Linked DNA regions of Homo sapiens: region 1 is linked to region 2. Evidence: promoter capture Hi-C in human tissues and cell types (Jung and others, 2019). All regions are on one chromosome and are shown on one strand. The core of a region is centred on a gene start or on the middle of the fragment in contact, and the rest is flanking DNA. Distances in the headings are between cores, read along the strand shown.

Evidence for each region. The method cuts DNA at HindIII sites, captures the fragments that hold promoters and counts their contacts. A contact is called where the count stands out against the background at its distance.
Region 1: a fragment that was not itself captured here is called in contact with the fragment with the promoter of KCNK13 in region 2 in 1 of the 25 tissues and cell types used here (aorta).

Annotation. Positions count from the first base shown.
Region 1 is chr14:90,006,236-90,013,247 of GRCh38, reverse strand. The region is part of intron 14 of TDP1 (tyrosyl-DNA phosphodiesterase 1); the gene reads right to left. Among named protein-coding and RNA genes, the nearest start is that of KCNK13, 52 kb to the left of the region's middle. RefSeq lists a silencer at 6,417-6,584. The HindIII fragment of the contact is 6,858 bases long and covers 1-6,545 here.
Region 2 is chr14:90,058,533-90,064,913 of GRCh38, reverse strand. It overlaps KCNK13 (potassium two pore domain channel subfamily K member 13), which reads right to left and starts at 2,920. Exons shown (of 2, transcript NM_022054.4): 1 at 2,375-2,920. The coding sequence starts at 2,708. LOC124903406 reads right to left here. Exons shown (of 3, transcript XM_047432048.1): 2 at 4,003-4,512; 3 at 3,181-3,552. The coding sequence ends at 3,288. RefSeq lists enhancers at 2,978-3,477, 3,478-3,979 and a silencer at 4,228-4,617. The HindIII fragment of the contact is 23,188 bases long and covers 1-6,381 here.

The DNA of each region.
Region 1 (7,012 bases), core at 1,867-4,366, 52 kb after region 2:
TCTCATGTTCTCACATTTCAAAACCAATCATGCCTTCCCAACAGCCTCCCAAAGTCTTAACTCATTTCGGCATTAATTCAAAAGTCTACAGTCTGAAGACTCATCTGAGACACAGTACGTCCCTTCTGCCTATGACCCTGTAAAATCAACAGCAAGTCAGTTACTTCCTAAATACAATGTGGGTACAGGCATTGGGTAAACACAGCCATTCTAAATGGGAGAAATTGGCCAAAACAAAGGGGCTACAGGCCCCATGCAAGTCCAAAATCTGTCAGGGCAGTCAAATCTTAAAGCTCCGAAATGATCTCCTTTGACTCCATGTCTCACATCCAGGTCACGCTGATCCAAGAGGTAGGCTTCCATGACCTTGGACAGGCTCTGCCCCTGTAGCTTTGCAGGGCATAGCCCCCCTTCTTGGCTGCTTTCAGGGGCCGGCATTGAGTGTCTGCAGCTTTTCCAGGCCCACCATGCAAGCTGTCAGTGGATCTACCATTTTGGGGTCTGGAGGATGGTGGCCCTCTTCTCACAGCTCCACTAGGCAGTGCCCCAGTAGGGACTCTGTGTGGGGGTTCCTACCCCATATTTCTCTTCTGCACTGCCCTAGCAGAGGTTCTCCATGAGGGCTCCACCCCTGCAGCACACCTCTGAAGCAATGGCCTTGCGGGTACACAGAAGTTAAGAATTGAGGTTTGGGAAACTCTACCTACATTTCAGAGGATGTATAGAAACGCCTGGATGTCCAGGCAAAAGTTTGCTCCAGGGACGAGGCCCTCATGGAGAACCTTTGCTATGGCAGTGTGGAAGGGAATTATGGGGTCGGAGGCCCCACACAGAGTCCCCACTAGGGCACTGCCTACTGGAGCTGTGAGAAGGGCCAGAATCCTTCAAGATTGCAGAATTGTAGATTCACTGACAGCTTGCACCATGTGCCTGGAAAAGCCATAAACACTTAATGACATGAGGCTCCATCCCTGCAGCAAACTTTTGCCTGGACATCCAGGCTTTTCCATACATCCTTTGAAATGTAAGTAGAGGTTCCCAAACCTCAATTCTTAACTTATGTGTACCTACAGGCCCAACACAATGTGTAAGCCACCAAGGCTTGGGGCTTGCACCCTCTGAAGCAATGGCCTGAGCTGTATGTTGGCACCTTTTAGCCATGCCTGGGATGCAGGGCACCAAGTCCCAAGACTGCACAAAGCGGCAAGGGCCTGGGCCTGGCCCACAAAGCCATTTCCTCCTAGGCTTCCAGGCATGTGATGGGAGGGTCTGCCGTGAAGACTTCTGACATGCCCTGCAGACATTTTCCCCATTGTCTTGGCAATTAACATTTGGCTCCTCATTACTTATGCAAATTTCTGTAGTCCTCAGAACATGGGTTTTTCTTTTCTATTGCATTGTCAGGTTGCAGATTTTCCAACTTTTATGCTCTGCTTCCCTTTTAAACATAAGTTCCAACTCCAAAGAGTATCTCTATGAATGAATAAAACTGTATGCCTTTAAGAGCACCCAAAATCACCTCAAACACTTTGCTGCTTAGAAATTTCTTCTGCCAGATACCCTATATTATCTTTCTCAAGTTTAAAGTTCCACAGATCTCTATGGCAGGGGCAAAATGCCACCAGTCTCCTTGATAAAACATAGGAAGAGTCCCCTATGCCCCAGTTCCCAACAAGTTTCTCATCTCCATCTGGGAACATGTTAGCCTAGACTTCATTGTCCATATCACTGTCAGCATTTTGGTCAAAGCCATTCAACAAGTTTTTAGGAAGTTCCAAACTTTCCCACATCTTCCTGTCTTCTGAGCCCTCCAAGTCTCTAGGAAGTTCCCACTTTCCCACATTTTCCTGTCTTCTTCTGAGCCCTCCAAACTGTTCCAACCTCTGCCTGTTACCCAGTTCCAAAGTCACTTCCACATTTTTGGGTATCCTTATAACAGCACCCCACTCTACCGGTAGCAATTTACTATAACAGTCTGTTCTCTCACTGCTAATAAAGACATACCCAAGACTGGGTAATTTATAAAGGAAAGGAGGTTTAATGGACTCACAGTTCCACATGGCTGGGGATGCTTCACAATCATGGCAGCAGGCGAAGGAGGAGCAAAGGCATGCCTTACATGGTGGCAGGCAGGAGTGTGTGTGCAGAGAAACTGCTCTTTATAAAAACCATCAGATCTCATGAGACATATTCACTATCATGAGAACAGCACAGGAAAACCCACCCCCATGACTGAATTACCTCCCACCAGGTCCCTTCCACAACATGTGGGGATTATGGGTGCTACAATTCAAGATGAGATTTGGGTGGGGATACAGCCAGCCCATATCACTACTGAACGCTGATGTTTACCTCCGTGAAGTATCAATTTTTAAACTATGATACTGTTTTTTTCTCTTGATATGCAGTGCCCATTAGTTTCCTGCTGCTGCTCTAACAAAATGCCACAAATTTAATGACTTAAAACAAAGATTCATTATCTTACACAAAGTAAAGTAAAATTAAAGTTTTAGGAGGATTGTGTTTCTTCCAGAGGCCCTCAGGAAGAATTCATTTCCTTGCCTTTTCTAGTTCTAGAGGCTGTCTGCATTCCCCTTGGAATGTCTCTGTTCCTTCATCTTCAAGGCCAGTGAGGTTAGCTGAGTCCTTTTTCATGCAGTGCTCTCTCTCTCGACTTGTCCCTCTTCCACTTTTAAGTATCTTTGTGATTATACTGGGCCCTCCCCCAATAACCACCCCATTTTAAGGTCAGTTGATTAGCAAACCTAATCCCACCTGCTGCCTTAATTCCCCTTTGCCAGATAATTTAACAGTCACAGCCCCTGAGGATTTTACACAAAGACATCTTTGGGTGGCCATTATTCTGCCCACCACACAGTGCTTTTCATATATTACAATTATGTTGCAAATGTTTGCCCAGTTATAACTTTGTTTATGAAAACCTTTATAGTTCAGAAGGTAATTTTTGCTTGTTTTCTTCCATTTTGGGGCGAGGAAGGAAGTTATCCAAGGTGCAGTTTTTGACTTTATAGCTTCTGGGTGTGAGGTCTTACTCAGAAAAACCTTTTCATCCATCCCAAAATGGTGTCTTTTGACAAAATAAAGTTTTAAAATATTCTGAAGTCCAAACATGTGTAAATCTTTTCTTGCAAGTGCATTTTATGTCTTATGTACTAAATCTTGCCTACTTCAAGGTTGTAGGGTATTCTTGTTCTAGGCTTTATAGCTTTAGCGTTCTCACTTAGGCATATGATACATCTGAAGTTAATTTTGTCTATGTCCTAAGATAGGCTAAGGTTTTTTTTTCCTGCATCAATATCCAATTGCTTTAGCAATATTTATTGAAAAGAACATCCTTCATCCACTGAATTACATTGGTGCCTTTGTCAAAAATGGTTGATGATATATGTGTCTATTTCTGGACTCTGTTCTGTTCTGTTCATCAATTTATCTATTGTTATGCTGATATCACAGTCTTACCCTGCTTTTATAGTGAATCTTGAAATCATGTTTAAACTCCTTGGGGTTTTACAAATGCACAGTCATATCTTCTGCAAATATAGTTTTACTTCTTCCTTAATAATCTTTATGTCTTTTATTTTTTTGCCTTATTGCACTGGCTATAACTTCCAGTACAATACTGCAGAGAACCACACTTACCCTTCAATCTATTATGTGCTTTCAATAAGACTTTTCCCCAAACCACTATCCTGAAACCACTTAAAGTCACTCCACACTGCCATATCCAATGGAAACTTCTTTACTCTCATCTTAATCTCTCTGTAGCATGAGACTTCTACCATCAGTGCCTCTTATCCCCTGGCATAATTGAAACATTACTGTAATTATTCTTCCTTGTTTTCTGCTACACTTTGTGGCTTCCTTTCTGCTTTCAACCTCTCTGGTCACTCCTTTTCTTCCACCTGATCTCTCAAATATTGGAATGCTAGGTATCTGCCCCTACCTTATGTCAAGATATTAACATAGACATTGGTTCCAGGTTCTTGAAGAGACCAGCAGCAACAAAATCTATCTGGAGGTACAGAGGTTTGTCCACTCAAGTCACAGATAATTTTTATAGTTAAAGCTTCAGTGAAGACACAAATTTTAAAATAAAAGGGAAAATAATCCAAATCCATCATGAGCAAGACAACAGAAAATATAATTAGACCTCCAGGAACTTCAGATGATTGACCAATTAGATGTCGAGTTAAAAATAAGTATACTTAAAATGATTTGAGCTGGACATGGTAGCTCATGCCTGTAATCCTAGTGCTTTGGGAAGCCAAGACAGAAGGATCACTTGAGGCCAGAGGCTTGAGACCAGCCAGGGCAACAAAGCAAGATCCCATATCAAAATAAAATGCAAAAATTAGCCAGGCAGGGTGGTGTGCACCTGCAGTCCCAGCTACTTGTGAGACTGAGATGGGAGAATTGCTTGAGCCCAGGAGCTATGATCACGTGCCACTGCACTCCAGCCTGGGTGACACAGCAAGACACCATCTCAAAAAACAAAACAAAAATAAACAAAAGATTTCAAAGTAAACAACATACAAAAGAAATAATGAAACAAGCATAAAACAAATTTGCTAATAATGGCAGCTAATATGCAGCATCTATTAACTGCCAAATGTTGTTTTAATACCTTTATATATTCTATTTATTTTCATTCTTAACTATTAGATACCTATTCTATTACTATACTTACTTAACAGATGAGAAAATGGAAGTCATTTGCCCAAGATTTCAACAGGTACTAGGTGGTAGAGTAAGAATTCGAACTCAGGCAGCGTGACTCTGGGCTGAACTCTAAACCATGAAACATATGGTATCCAAGAAGGTCCAAAAGTAAAATACAGTCACTAGAATTAAAAACTCTACTGATGAATTAAATACCATGAGTCACAGCTGAAAACAAAACTAATGAAACAGAAGAAAGATCTAAAGAAATTAGGTAGAATGCAACTCAGAGGCAAAGAGGTGCAAAGTAAGAAACTGAAGATAGAATGAGAGGGTCCGACAAGCATCTCATAAGAGTTGCAAGAAGGAAGTGAGAGAGGGTGAGTCAATATGCTTAATGATAATAGCCAATAATTTTACCGAACTGTTGAAAAATCAGTTCTTTAGAGTGAAGAAATACAACAAACCCTGCTGAGACTAAATAAAAATAAATCCATACCTATTTATCCATCGTAGCTAAACTGAAGAATACCAAATATAAAGAAAATCTTAAAAACAGCCAGAGATGAGACAGCTTTTCCACAAGGAGCAACAATTAGATGGCAACTTCTCAATACCAACAACTGAGCTCAAAAGCCAATGGAAAAAAATATTTAAGGAACTTAGAGGAAGACCAGGCATGGTGGTTCACGCCTGTAATCCCAGTATTTTGGGAGGCTGAGGTGGAAGGATTGCTTGAACTCAGGAGTGTGAGAACAGCAACATAGTGAGACCCCATCTCTAAAAAAAAATAAAAAATTAGCCAGGTGTGGTGGTGCATACCTGTCCCAGCTACTTGGGAGGCTGAGGTGGAAGGATGACTTGAGCCCGAGAAGTGGAGGTTACAGTGAACCAAGCCTGGGTGGCAGAGCAAAACTCTGCCTTAAAAGGAAAAAAAAAAATCTTAGTTGGCAGTTACTTTGTCCCAGTTTCCCGCCCCGAGACAGGGTCTTGCTCTATTACCCAGGTTGGAGTGCAGTGGAGCGATCTCAGCTCACTGCCACCTCTGCTTCCTGGGTTCAAGCGATTTTCATGCCTCAGCCACCTGAGTAGCTGGGATTACAGGTGTGAGCTACCATGCCCAGCTAATTTTTATATTTTTAGTAGAGACAGGGTTTCACCATGTTGCCCAGGCTGGTCTTGAACTCCTGGTCTCAACTGATCCACCGGCCTTGGCTTCCTAAAGTGCTGGGATTACAGGTATGGGCAGTGTGAGCCACCGCGTCCGGCCAAAGAATTTTAAATTCAGTTAAATTATCACTCAAAAATGAGGGCAAAAATAAAGGGAGTTTTAGAAAAACAAATAAGAGCTTATTGCCAGTAAGAAGGCATCAGTGAAATAACTATAAAAGATACAGTTCAGGAATAAAACTGAATTTGTTTGAAAGGACAGGGCTACCGGGAAGAAAAAGAACAAAGAAATGAGTAAACTTATGGGTAACTGTAAACAAGAAGTGACTGTAAAGTAATAATGACAATGACTAATTTTGAAAGCCAAAAAAGGGTGGAATGAAAATATTGGTGAATAATAAAGAGGAAGAGGAGCTGGTCATGGTGGCTCACACCTGTAATCCCAGCACTTTGGGAGGCCAAGGCAGATAGAGAGTTTTGAGCTCAGGAGTTCAACAGCAACCTGAGCAACATTTCAAAACTCCATCTCTATGAAAAATACAAAAATTAGCCAGGCATGGGCTGGGCATGGTGCCTCACGCCTGTAATCCCAGCACTTTGGGAGGCTGAGGTGGGCGGATCACCTGAGGTCAGGAGTTCGAGACCAGCCTGGCCAACATGGTGAAACCCCATCTCTACTAAAAACACAAAAAAATTAGCCAGGCTTGGTCGCGGGCACCTGTAATCCCAGCTACTTGGGAGGCTGAGGCAGGAGAATCGCTTGAACCCAGGAGGTGGAGGTTGCAGTGAGCTGAGATCATGCCATTGGACTCCAGCCTGGGTGACAGAGCAAGACTCTGTCTCAAAAAAAATTAGCTAGGCATGGTGGCATACACCTGTAGTCCCAGCTACTTGGGGAGGCTGAGAAGGGAGGATCACCTGAGCCTGGGAGGTCAAGGATGCAGTGAGCAGTGAGCATGCCATTGCACTCCAGCCTGAGTGACAGCGTGAAATCCTATCTCAAAATTCTGCAGATGTTGAAGAATCTTGGGAGATTAACTACTAAGAGGATGCAACACATCAGCTGTGTTTCCAGGGTGGCTATCAGGTCTTACAGATACAGTGTATTAACAAAGAAAAGCCAGCAAGAAAAGAAAAATGAAAATGATTATGATGCATGTTT
Region 2 (6,381 bases), core at 1,671-4,170:
ACAGCAATGAGCTGCATTGCACATTCACATAATAATCATACAGTATGTGCCTAATACGGGCCTGATAAAGGTTAGCCAGTGCTGTTATTACAACAATTAGTGAAACAATTTAAAAGGAAATGTTACAAATGAGAAATAAAAATCAGCCCACACTGACATCATGTTTTTTACCTTTTAACACGCACGCACTTACAAGAGCTCATTGTCCCTCACAAGAACCCTGTGACAGGGGCAGGCTTACGCAGACGGAGGGAGCAGGGGGCAGGACTAATATTCACCAAATAGCTGATGTGCCAGATACCAAGGTGGGCACTCTGTAGATGCCTCAGATGAGAAAAGGATGGGGCTCGGAATAGTTAAGAGGCTTGCCCAAGATACAGAGGCAGGATGAAAAGCTCCCACTCCAGACTCTTTGTCCAGGTTTCTTTCCACTCCTCCATGCCACATTGTCATATTCGTATCCCCAAAGCCCATGTTCCTATATGGCCACCTACCCATGCCACTCTCAGTTCCTGCTACATGGATGCACCTGTCCACACACACACTCTGCTCCTTCCTGCCTCTGTGCCCACTGGGAGCACCAAGAGATGGTTTTTCATGGTGGTGGGAAAGATTCAGCCATCAAATCTCCCATCAAAACCACCCTAAGTTACCATTCAATCTAAAAAAATCCTGTACTTGCTATGCAAACACAGTAGAGTCAAGGTCACTTCCAAAGTGACACCTCCTAATCAGTTTGTTCATCCCAAGTCTTGCCTATGTGGAGATTCTGGAACTGTCTTCTGGGACGTGGGAGGTGATGTGAGGAGGGGCTTGTGGAACACGGCTAAGAGTCCAGCAGATAGTGTGGGCTCAGGGGGAGAACCATGGGGGTGTTATTCCTCCTTCACCAATCTTGGGCCCATTCTGGTCTGCTGCAAGGTTTCCTGCCTGATACCCAGTTATGGTGGTGCCATCATGGCCTGCTGATGGGCCGCACCATCTGGGATGGGATGGGGGCTGGGAGCCAGGCACTTCAGATACAGCCGGTGTGTCCCTAATCATACTGGTCCTCTGCCTCGCCTCCTGTGCATCAGCTGAAGCCCTGGATTCCTGGACTAGCCCTGGGAAGTCTTTCATGATGAATCTGACCTGAAGCCAATCTCTTTTGTCTTTTGTGCTGCTTCTCCTGGCAGAATGTCTATGTAGCACAGCCATGTGTGGGAGCCTCAAGGAGGCTCAACTTGTCGCCCCACCTCACCAGCGAGCTCTTCTAGAGTGCACAGGGGCAGTAGCTACAGAGCGCTCAGCACATGCACCCTGGGCTGTTTGCAACTGCCAGCCTTTTTTGCAGCTTGGAGGCCACTTCCTCTCCGTCTAACTCTTCCAACCTCCCTCCCCTGCTCCAGGTCTCTTTTTGCCCCCCTCAGAATTTATTTCTACAGCATCTTCCCTAACCCCCATTAATCACTTGATTATTCTTCAAGGATGAACAATCTTTAGGGGTGTGGCGCAGACTCCCCCAAATCATTTTCCTTCTGCTGGGAAATAAACACAGCTGATTGTAGCTGTGCTACATCTTTGCTAAAAAATTCTCAATGGCTCCCAGGTGCCTCTAGGTAAATTCCAGCTCCTCAGTCTGTCAGTGAAGGTCCTACCCCCGCCTCCATCCCATTAGCCAGCAGACCTTCCTAGTCTTCCTTCCACCACTCCAACCAGCTCATGGGGCCCCTGAGTGCGATTCTCTCCTACTCTAGAGTGCAACCGCGCTTTCAGTTCCCAAACCCAAGTTATGCCTAACACGAATTGATTCAGCCCAAAGGTCACTTCCCTGGTTCTTCCTGGTGGAAAATTTTCCATCTTTTGAACCGTCATTGGCACTTTTGCTTCCTCACTTTCAGTCTGCTGTTCTGATTTTTTCTCGGTAAGTGTGAAGTCGAGGGCAGAATCTTTTAAAATCTGCACTTCCCCTCTGACTGACTCAGTAAATGTTTAGTTTCCTGTCCCTATCTGTAAAAGCCTTCTTCCCCATGAACTCAAGCCGTGTCTCCTTCATTAGACTGAAAATCTCCCAGAGCAGAGCGTCTCCAATTTAAGGATCATTCCAATCCTTTGGGGACTTTGTTAACATGCAGATTCTGACTCGGCAGGTCTGCAGAGGGGACTGAGACTGCATTTCTAACAAGCTGCCAGGTGACGCTGAAGCTGCCGGTGCCTGGACCACATTAGAGCAGCGGGGAGGCAATACCACCTGTTGATCAGGCGACAGCTCATGTCAGTGGAGTCTGGCTGGGCGCCCAGATGGATGAATGAAAGGATGAGAGGGTCGGTCCTGCCCCCCGGAGGAAGTGGAGGCCGCCCGGAGGTTGTCAGCGAGTCCGGCCAGCACACTTACCTATGGTGGAAACGACGGTGCCCACGAAGTAGAAGGCGCCGGTGAAGTCCCAGCGCGGGCGGACGTTGTCCACGCGGATGCCGGCCCGAGTGGCCTCCTCGTAGTGGCGGAGGAAGCCGCGCAGCTCGTCGCGGCTCAGGTTGTGGCCGCGGCTGAAGTTGGCCAGGCGCTCCTCCCAGCGCTGCTTGGCCTGGCGCTCGTGCGCCAGCTCCAGCGCGGAGAAGACGGCGGCGCCGCCCAGCAGGTAGAGCACGATGAGCGCGGCCAGCAGCAGAAAGCGCGCGTTGTCCTCGTTCAGGTGGCCCGGGCCCCAGCTGAAACCCCGGCCAGCCATGGCCGGGCCCCCGGGGGCAGCCCCCAGGCCCACGGCACCGGGCGTCGGCGGAGTCTCGCCCACACCCCCGGGAAATAAGGGCCCCGGCGCTCAGCCAGCTCCCGGGCGCCCCACCGCCGGCTCGCCCATGACCGCCGGGCTCTCCCGCAGGCCGCGAGGCTCCCCCGGCCGCCGCCTCGGTAGCTCCTGTGGCGCCAGCTCCCCACGTCCTCCTTGACTCCTAGTTTCAAATCCGCTTTGTCGCCGCCGTTCCCCTCCACTCCCCCTGCTCTCCTCGGAGTTCTCCTTAACGCTGAAGGTCCCGGGGAACGGGCGCAGAGTTCACGTCTGCTTGGCGCTGGGATGCGGGCGCAGTTTCCACCCCGGCTCCCTGTCCGGCTCAGATAGGGGAGGGGGCGTGGCGCGTCTTCAGGGCAAGCTCGAGCCAACTCGAGTTTCCCGCAAAGAGACGGTCGCGGGGCGGGGCGGGGCGGGGCGGGGCGGCGGGGGGGGGGCGCGGTCCGGAGGTCTGCGGGTAAGCAGAGCGCCGGGGTCCTGGGTCCTGGTTCCTTTGACTATCGCTTCGCAGGCCGCCGACGGCTAGGACACGGGTGTCAGTCTGCTGGCTTTGTAGGTGCCTCCCCAGGTAGATCGACGATGGTGCCTCCTAGTTGTGGTCGTGGTGTCGCGCTGAGCCTGTGGCCTCCCGAGTCTCCGAATCGGCTGCCGGGGCTTAGGGATGGAGGGGGTCCAGGGCGGGCGCACGGAGAGAGGGGCTGTGCTGAGCGGCGTCCGAGGGCTGCGGCGTCCGAGGGCTCCGACCTCCGGCCGGGCCCCAACGCTGCGCATCCGTTGGGCGGACGGGCTGGAGAGAGGAGACCAGAAAGGGAGGTTGGAACAGGGAGCAAAGGAAGTTAGGGGCTTCTCCCCCGGGCAGCCTCCCTCGCCTTGACCATGCCAGAGCGCCCTTGGTCTCTGGATCCTGCGCGGGGGCGTCCTCTGCGCCTACTAGTAGGCTCCGCCCGGACCAAGCGCGCACCGCGAGCCAGCCCCGCTTCCGGAGAGGAGGCCAAACACTGGGGGCTGGAAGGGCTCCGCGGCCAGGAGACCTTGACCTTGGAGCGTTCCATCTCTTCCCCCCGGGCTTGGCTGCCTAGTGCGTTCCAGAGTTTTGCCTGGACGCGGGGTCCGCGCAGAAGGCATCCCCCACCTCATGCAGAACAGTAGCAAGGCTCTCCAGCAAACCGCCGGGGCCCCCTCCCCGAGACCCCGCCTTGTAGCGGGCGCTGGCGCCGCTGCCGCGCTCAGATCTCACCTTCCGGGGAGCGCCCTCTCCGCGCCGCTCCGTCGGGACTGTTCCCGGGCCTCCTGGCAGCCGCGGCCCTGCCCTGCCAGCCGGCGCGCGGAGCACAGGTCCGCACCGCGCTCTGCCTTCTCAGGCGGGCGCGCTCCGACGCTGCAACAGGTAGAGCCGTGCGGCTGCCAGCTGCGGCGACTCCACCCTGTCGCCCGCCTCCTTGCGCGCGGGCCCGCCTCCTGCGCTGGTCTCCGCGGGTAGACGCTCGGCGTTCGAAGGGCCGACCCGGGGCTGCGGTGCTCCCACCAGGGCGCGCAGATCTGGGTAGTGGATGCAGAACCGGCTGGTGGGACGCTCAGCCGGTCCGCGTGGGCCCTCCGGGGCCGGGAGAGGGCGCTCTGCCCCCTCCAGACACATCCCGCCCCCGCCCGCGCACACAGCCCCGCGCGGCCCTCCGGAATCACCCGCCCGGGCGTGTGGGAGCGAATCTGTACGCGGAGAGGAATGGATACGTGGGCATCTTCCCACCTTCCGAGAGAGCGGTTTCAGGCGCAGAGCCCCACACACCGCCCTTACGCACCAGGAGCAGAGACAGAAGGGCTAGGAGCCCTGTTGAGTAAAACCGTGTGATTTCGAATAAAGAAACACAGCTCTGGCGAGTGCATTTTCATCAGAAACCCTGGTGCTGTTAGCAGTCCTCTCGGCTCTGTTACTCACTCCCCAATGCCCCTCTTTCATCTAGCCTTCTGAGGGGCAAGAGCTTTAGGGGCATCGCGAGAATGGGTGCATGTGTATACACCCAGGGTGAGTACTGCAATTACCTTTTAAATCCATTTTATTATGAAAAATTTCAAACATTCTAAAAAGTTGAATTTTACAGTGAACACCCGTATACCCACCACCTAGATTCTACAATTAACATGTTACTATACTTGATTTATTAGATATCTACCCGTCCCTCTGTCCATCCATCAACCCATCTTGTTTGGATGCATTTCAGAGTAAGTTGCAGAGCTTGGTACACTTCCGCCCTCATCCCCAGTACTTCTGCCTGCATATCACTACGTAGGGTTCAATATTTACTTGCAGAATTTTTTTCCTTTTCGGATAAAATTTACATACAATGAAATGCACAAATCTTAAGTGTATCATTAGGTGAGTTCTGACAAATGGGTACACCTCTGCAAATCACCTATCCAACCTACCAGCCAAACATCACCAACAGGGTCCCCCTAAGTCCCTTCCCTGTAACTCCCTACCCACATTCCTCCAGAGAAAACCACTGTTCAGAATTTTTCTACCATCGATTACTTTCGCTTTTATAGAACTGTTTTTTTGTTCTAAATCTCCATATAAATGGAATCATGCCGGTATGTACTCTTTGGTGGAAAACATTATGTTTTTGAGATTTACCCATGTTATATGTCTTAGTAATTCCTTCCTCTTTATTGCTAGTTTTTCATTGTTTGGGTATACCATAGTTTGTTTATTCATTCTCCTCCTATTGATAGAAAGGAGAACTGTTAGAAAATTTTGGTCATCATAAATAAAACTGTTAGGAACATTCTTGTACAACTATGTAGACATATGTTTTCATATCTCTTACGTAAAGACCTAGGAGCGGAATTGCTGGGTCATAGGGTAGGTATGTATTTTGCTTTATGAGAAACTGCCCGACATTTTCCCAAAGCAGCTGTACTGACAGTGTACACTAGTTCTGGATGCTCCGTATCTTTGTCAACATTTGGCAGTATCAGTCATTTTAATTTTAAAACTACTGGTGGATGTAGCAATATCTCACTGTGGTTTTAATTTGCATTTCCCTGATGTCTAAAAATACTGGTGGATGTAGCGATATCTCACTGTGGTTTTAATTTGCATTTCCCTGATGTCTAATGCGCTTGCTGGCCACTTGTGTACCTTCTCTTGTGAATTTTCTGTTGAAATATTTTGCCCACTTAAAAAATTAGTTTCTCTGTTACTGAATTATAGAGATCCTTTATATATGCAGGATACGAGTACTTTCTCAGATACATATCTTGCAAATATTTTCTAACTCTGATTTGCCTATTTATTTTCTTAAATATGTTTTCTGTATGTTTGGTGCCCTTTGAGAAATCATTACCTCCTTCAAGGTTGCATAGGTTTTCTGTCTCCCCACACTTTTATATTTGGGTCTACGATCCATTTAAGTTTGTTTCCTTATGGTATGAGGTAAGAGTCAAAGGTCATTTTGTCCAGGTGGATTTCCAGTTATTCCAATGCTATTTGTTGAAAAGATAAATATGCCTGAGTTTCAGGAATTTAATTTGTTCATTATTTGCCCACCCTTATGCTAATACCACAGGATTTACATACTTATAGCTCTATAGTAGGTCTTTAGTGGGACTATAATTG